2 separate regions of the Homo sapiens genome follow, and region 2 is linked to region 1. Evidence: promoter capture Hi-C in 16 types of primary human blood cells and fetal thymus (Javierre and others, 2016). All regions are on one chromosome and are shown on one strand. The core of a region is centred on a gene start or on the middle of the fragment in contact, and the rest is flanking DNA. Distances in the headings are between cores, read along the strand shown. Region 1 overlaps OTUD7B (OTU deubiquitinase 7B). Region 2 holds the start of H2AC18 (H2A clustered histone 18).

Region 1 (3,261 bases), core at 327-2,826:
AAGTCTAGATGGGCTACTTTATATTCCAGTTCAATACCGAACTACCTGTAGTTCCTAAACATATCATGTTGTTACACACTTTTGTGCCCTTAGCATAGTTCCCCTCTTTCCTTCTAATATCCTCTTAGCACAGAGCTCTCTAGACACTGGGCTGTGGAAGCCCAGTGAGGACTCTATGCAGGTTTCCTCCTCCCCTACTTAGCCATACTTACCCACCACAGTTGGCTCCATTGGTACCTAGATGCATTCGGGGTTCACTTGAGGCAAGCTTGATCAGTTCATTCCACTCCTTCTGCCATTCATCTTCTGTGTATACCAGCCCTGACTGTGTGAAGGACAGGCAGGGGACATTGGGCAATTAGAGGCTGGGTTCTAAGAGGCAATACCTATTCCACCTTATTCACTGTTACTTACTCCCTAATCCCTTAGCACTTGGTTTACAAATTGTACTACAAAGTCAAATCTCTTATCTCTTTTACAGTCAAGATCCATGAACTAATAGTCTATGACTATTAAACTTCTTTATCATCCATTCTTTTTGACCTACTGCAATCTGTCCCATTTCTGCCCTCCATCCTGCTCACCCACCTGCCACATAACATTTCACCTACCTGATTTTGGCAAAGAACAATGACCTTCTAATTGCCACATTCAGTGGACCCTGGTTCCCATCTTAGCCTTCACATGGGTTATTTTCCTCTTTAAATTTTCTTTGCCATTAGCGTCCATAAAATTACTTTCTATTCCTCTAAATTCTGTCTGCCCCCAAAATACTAGTGGTGTGTCAATGATTTTCACCTTGGTTCCCTCTGGGTGATCTCTTCTACTGCCATAATCTCATCCACTACCATCTGTATGGTATATACCATCTATCTCCAGCCCAGATTTCTTAATTTCTTTTCTTTTTCTTTTCTTTCCTTTTTTTCTTTTTTTTTTTTTTGTAGACAGAGTCACCCAGGCTGGAGTGCAATGGCACAATCTCGGCTCACTGCAAACTTCACCTCCCGGGTTCAAATGCTTCTCCTGCCTCAGCCTCTCGAGTAGCTGGGATTACAGCACCCACCACCAGGCCCAGCTAATTTTTGTATTTTTAGTAGAGACGGGCTTTCCCCATGTTGGCCAGGCTGGTCTCGAACTCCTGACCTGGTGATCTGCCTGTCTCAGCCACCCAAAATGCTGGGATTACAGGCATGAGGCACTGCACTCAGCCTAGACTTCTTAATTTCTATATTCATATATCCAGCTACCTACTGGAGACTGCCACCTGCCCATGGCTACCTCAAACTCTGTAAAGTCAAAATAGAACTCCTGTTTTTTCCCAAACCCACTCTTCTTCCTATTTTCCTACCTTAGTGAATAGCACCAACTATCACCCAAACATCCAAGCTCAAAACCAAGGAATTATCTAATATTCCTTTCTTTCTTTCACCCACCCCACACCTGGATACCTTCTTTTTTTTTTTTTTTTTTTTTGAGACAGAGTCTCACTCTGTCGCCCAGGCTGGAGTACAGTGGAACGATCTCAGCTCACTGCAACCTCCACCTCCCGGGTTCAAGCAATTCTCCTGCCTCAGCCTCCCAAGTAGAAGTGCTGCATACAAAGCCTACTTTCTGGCCCCTACCCACTTCTCTAGTCAGATATATCTCACTGAATCAGCTGTAGTTCCTGAAATATACCATGTTGTTTTATACCACTGAGCTTTTGTCTAAGCTGTTCCTTCTGCCTGGAGTAGCTCACTTTCTGTCAACCTTGTGAACAATTTCTCAACTTTTAGGACAGAACTCAGGTATCATTCCTCCAAATAGTCTTCTAAATCTCCCTTGGCAGATCAACCACTCCTTCCTTTGTATCCTCTCTCCCTAACTGCTATAGAGTTGTTGTTGTTTTTTTGTTTGTTTGTTTGAGACAAAGTCTTGCTCTGTCACCCAGGATGGAGTGTGGTGGCATGATCTTGGCTCACTGCAACCTCCACCTCCCAGGTTCAAGCAATTCTCCTGCCTCAGCCTCCGGAGTAGCTGGGACTACACGTGCACACCACCATGCCTGGCTAGTTTTGTATTTTTAGTAAAGACGGGGTTTCACCATGTTGGCCAGGCTGGTCTCGAACTACCAACAGGTGATCCGCCTGCCTTGGCCTTCCAAAGTGCTGGGATTACAGGCATGAGCCACCGCATCCGGCCAGCATTAACTGCTATAGAGACGTCTATTGTAAGAGTCATACATGTTATAACCTGTTGCAATTATGTATTTACATGTCCATCTCCTCCTCTATGCTAGGATCATGTTTTATGCAATACACCCAAGGTCTATTTTGTGACTATAATCAATAAACATATGCTAAGTGAAACTACAATTTTTATCAAAGGAGAGCAGGCAATGGTACAAGCAATTTTAAAATACATTGGCTTTAGGATGTATATAATGATAAGGGAAATAAGTTTAACTTATTAATTTTATTTGGCTGACATTAGTATTAAAATGAGTCTATACGGCTTAACCGCACACTGACAGAGTAGAAGGAAATCACTGGAAACATGAGGGGTACTGGGAACAAATTTAATGGGAATTTTTTAAATGACACAGCTATTTTCAATTTGTAAAATGCTATCACAAATTTTACTTCAATTAAAAATAAAGAGAGCAATGCCCAGGTTCTATATGGAGTGCTGCAGTCACTCCAATAGACACATCCAGATCCGGCTCCCTCTTCCTGGCCGGTTTCTGCTTCCTGTTTTAATGTACACAGCCACTAGGTGGTGTACAACTTCTAGCCTTAACATTTAAGAAACTATTACTGAGCCTCACCACCAATTTCAACATAAAACAAGGAAGCCCAGGAAATCAAAACTTATTTAGTGTGGTTTTGGTACTGGGGAGCTAAAGGAAGCTTCCCCAGTTCATTATCCTCCTCCTACCATTCCCACTCCCAAGGTGGGTAATAATGCTATGAATGGTCTAAGCTAAGACAATTATGAAAGCCACATTTTCAGTATGAACTTTCACTGTGCTGAGCAAAAGGACTAAAACTATTGCTCCATTACTAGCCACTATTCTCTATGCATGTTGGGGACTTTCAGATGGAAAGGCTGACTTTGAGAGGGAAAGGCTGGCTGGCCAAGGATAGAACGTGGGTATTTCTGGGTTTCCTGGCTAAATACCATTATAATCTAACCCCATCTTTAGAATAATAACTAATTGCTTTAATAACTGGAATTGGGCACACTTAATTTTCTGGGTGTTGCTGTCATTTCTACTTAATA
Region 2 (3,269 bases), core at 236-2,735, 120 kb before region 1:
CAATAATTGAAAATCCCGCGCTGGCTGTCCATTGGCTGTGACGTCACCCGTCCTAAAGTCACCGGTTGGCTTGGGCAGATTCCTCCCTAATCCCGCCCACCCCGCCTCACTTTCTACTTACCAGTTGGCGAAGTTTCGCAAGCTTGTTTTTCCCCTTTCCTTCAGGGTGAAAGTCATTTTCCATTGCAGCTTTGTCAGATTGTTCCCTTTCCGCCCTTCGCTTCCTTAGAACACACTGCCCGCAATACCCCCCCTTTCTTGCTGCGCCCTACAGCTCCCGCGTGGAACCTCATTCTTCCATTTGCCCCCCGCCCCCAGTTGCTACTTGGCGGATCGTTTTTCGCCTGTCGGGTGCCTTTTGGGTGGGAGAGGTGCCCGCCCCCAGGACGCAAGATTCCGCCTCCGAGGCCCTTACTCTCCGCCGCCAGGGCGCTTTGGAAAACAAAACAGAAACTAAGACTTAAGTCAGCTCAGTGAAGCCAAGACCCAGCTCCGCCACACTAGCGAGCACTACCCGCTCAGGGCCCTCCCCATCGGGGGTGGGGACGAGGAGCACGTCCCGCTGGTGCCAGACTAGGTCTAAGTGTCCGGCCATAGCCTGCGGAAACCACTAGGGAAGCGCGCGCTCCGCGCGCAACACTTCAGCGCGTTGGGTACTGCCCGCGGCGCTGGTGTTTGTGACTGTGTGGAGCGGACCGTGGCGGCGCCCAGGACGTTTGGTGCCTGCACCTGCCCTGGGAAGTCCTAGGACTGGGGACCCACTCATCGAAGAGCCAAGGCAGTTACGTGCTCCAGATGGAAGACGGCGCGCACACACACACACCCCGCCCCGCCCCGCCCCGTCCCGTCCCGTCCCGTCCCGTCCCGTCCCGTCAGCTCCAGGTTCGCTATTCACTACTGAGGAACGCTGGACTGAGAGTGGCCAGCATTAACAACTCTTTTATTTGAAAACGTGGGTGGCTCTGAAAAGAGCCTTTTGAGTTCACAGGTGCCCCTTCGAGACGCGGGCCGGGCTGGGCCCACTTGGGCCGGACGTCAGCCTCACTTGCCCTTTGCCTTGTGGTGACTCTCCGTCTTCTTAGGGAGCAGTACGGCCTGGATGTTAGGCAAGACGCCGCCCTGGGCGATGGTGACTTTGCCCAGCAGCTTGTTCAGTTCCTCGTCGTTGCGGATGGCCAGCTGGAGGTGACGAGGGATGATGCGCGTCTTCTTGTTGTCCCGAGCCGCGTTGCCCGCCAGCTCCAGGATCTCGGCGGTCAGATACTCGAGGACCGCAGCCATGTAGACGGGCGCGCCGGCCCCCACTCGCTCCGCGTAGTTGCCTTTGCGCAGCAAGCGATGCACTCGCCCTACCGGGAACTGAAGGCCAGCGCGGGACGAGCGCGACTTGGCCTTGGCGCGGGCCTTGCCTCCTTGCTTGCCACGACCAGACATGACAGCGATAGTAGTCACCGAGAGAAACTCCTGCCTGGCGATCGGGAAAGTCGCCGAAAACGCCGCTGCTTCACCTTTTTATAGACAGAACGGCGATTGTCCACGGAGCACTTTGATTGGCTCAAGCAAATTTTGTCCCGATAGCCAATAGGATAGCTCAGCCAGAATCCACTCATTTACATAATCTCGTCTCCCTCGCATTGCGCGCCGCGGAAAACTCGCGAACCATAACGCAGCGTCATGCGCACAGCCTCTGTAAGTACACAGTCGTTTCCGGTAGACCCCGAGCCTACCGCTCTGCTTGCGTTCTCGGGGGTCGGTGTCGGTCTTGGGTCTGGCCATGCCTGAGCCTGCAAAGTTCGCGCCGGCTCCCAAGAAGGGCTCCAAGAAAGCCGTCACCAAAGCCCAGAAGAAAGACGGCAAGAAGCGCAAGCGCAGCCGCAAGGAGAGCTACTCCATCTACGTGTACAAGGTGCTGAAGCGGGTCCACCCCGACACCGGCATCTGGTGCAAGGCCATGGGCATCATGAACTCCTTCCTCAACGACATCTTCGAGCGCATCGCGGGAGAGGCGTCCCGCCTGGCGCACTACAACAAGCGCTCCACCATCACGTCCCGGAGATCCAGACGGCCGTGCGCCTGCTGCTGCCCGGCGAGCTGGCCAAGCACGCCGTGTCCGAGGGCACCAAGGCGGTCACCAAGTACGCCAGCTCCAAGTGAGTCCCTGCCGGGACCTGGCGCTCGCTCGCTCCCTCCCTCCCTCCCTCCGCGGGTCGCCGGCTGCTTTGTCTCCAAAGGCTCTTTTCAGGGCCACTTAACCCCGTTAGTGAAATAAGCTGTTTTCCCACTGCTTACTGTGAGTTCTACTTAGGGGTTTTCCCTCAGCACCTATCCCTTTTCCTGCAGATGATGGGAGAGGAATATAAGATAAAGCTATAAGATGTAGCTTGGTCGAGAACTACCTTGTAGTGACAGGGTCATGTGCACATAATTTGCCTTTTCCAAAGTGAGACGATATGCTACGGGTGCGGTCAATGTAAATCTGCTCAGGAGAGTCAAGGGAAAAAGTGTTAACTGCATATTGAGCTCGCAAAATTGTGTAGTAACCTGAAAATATTCCTAATAGTTTTGCGACCAAGCCTCACCATATAAACTTTCCTTCCGCACCTGTAGACCTCCATTCTGTGGTTGAAGCAATTTTTGGTTTATATAGCTCTCTTGTCTCAATTTGGTATTCCTTTCAGGTACTGTGAGTCTATAGGTATTTATTTCTGGGTTTCAAGACGTTAAATGCCATCAGAATTGAGTAATGCAAAGGCTGCTGTCATGGATAGTAAAGCTTTTTAGTCAAGTGCTGATAGACAATTCCCCATTGTTATCGTTGGGTATTTTACAATTTTCTGGGCAAGAAATGTAATGAAAAATTAAGTAAGTTTTAAAGGCCTTCGTCTTTGAGACTGGATACCTAAAACAATAGTGTTTCCTAAACAGTTAAAACTTATTTAACCCTGAAGCTTTCGAGACACACAAATATATACAAATATATATTGTATATTTCTTAAACCCCACATAGTTCCACTGATCTAAATCACTGGGGGCGAGAGGCAAGGATAGACAATCTATGACACAACACCAGGTGATTCATAAGTTTGGTAACCACTGACATTTGATTATGCAGTTGCCATATTCCTTAGTAAGAACCTGGTCACAATTTTCACTCACTACCCCAGGCAATTCCCCCTCCCCACACCCCCCTTTTTTCTGAGAATTTCAGTGAGATATACAAAAGTTTCATTTAATCCTTTATTAATTCCAGACTTTATATATTTTTATTA

What was found. The method cuts DNA at HindIII sites, captures the fragments that hold promoters and counts their contacts. A CHiCAGO score of 5 or more calls a contact.
Region 2: a contact is called between the fragment with the promoter of H2AC18 here and a fragment that was not itself captured in region 1, in 9 of 17 cell types (naive CD8 T cells, total CD8 T cells, total CD4 T cells and 6 more). The highest score is 7.3, in naive CD8 T cells.

The regions. Positions count from the first base shown.
Region 1 is chr1:149,959,472-149,962,732 of GRCh38, forward strand. It overlaps OTUD7B (OTU deubiquitinase 7B), which reads right to left. Exons shown (of 12, transcript NM_020205.4): 7 at 213-325. Among named protein-coding and RNA genes, the nearest start is that of MTMR11, 24 kb to the left of the region's middle. The HindIII fragment of the contact is 2,620 bases long and covers 267-2,886 here.
Region 2 is chr1:149,841,265-149,844,533 of GRCh38, forward strand. It overlaps H2AC18 (H2A clustered histone 18), which reads right to left and starts at 1,486. Exons shown (of 1, transcript NM_003516.3): 1 at 954-1,486. The coding sequence starts at 1,434. The coding sequence ends at 1,042. It also overlaps the pseudogene H2BC19P and a transcript of H4C15 not described here. The HindIII fragment of the contact is 2,631 bases long and covers 141-2,771 here.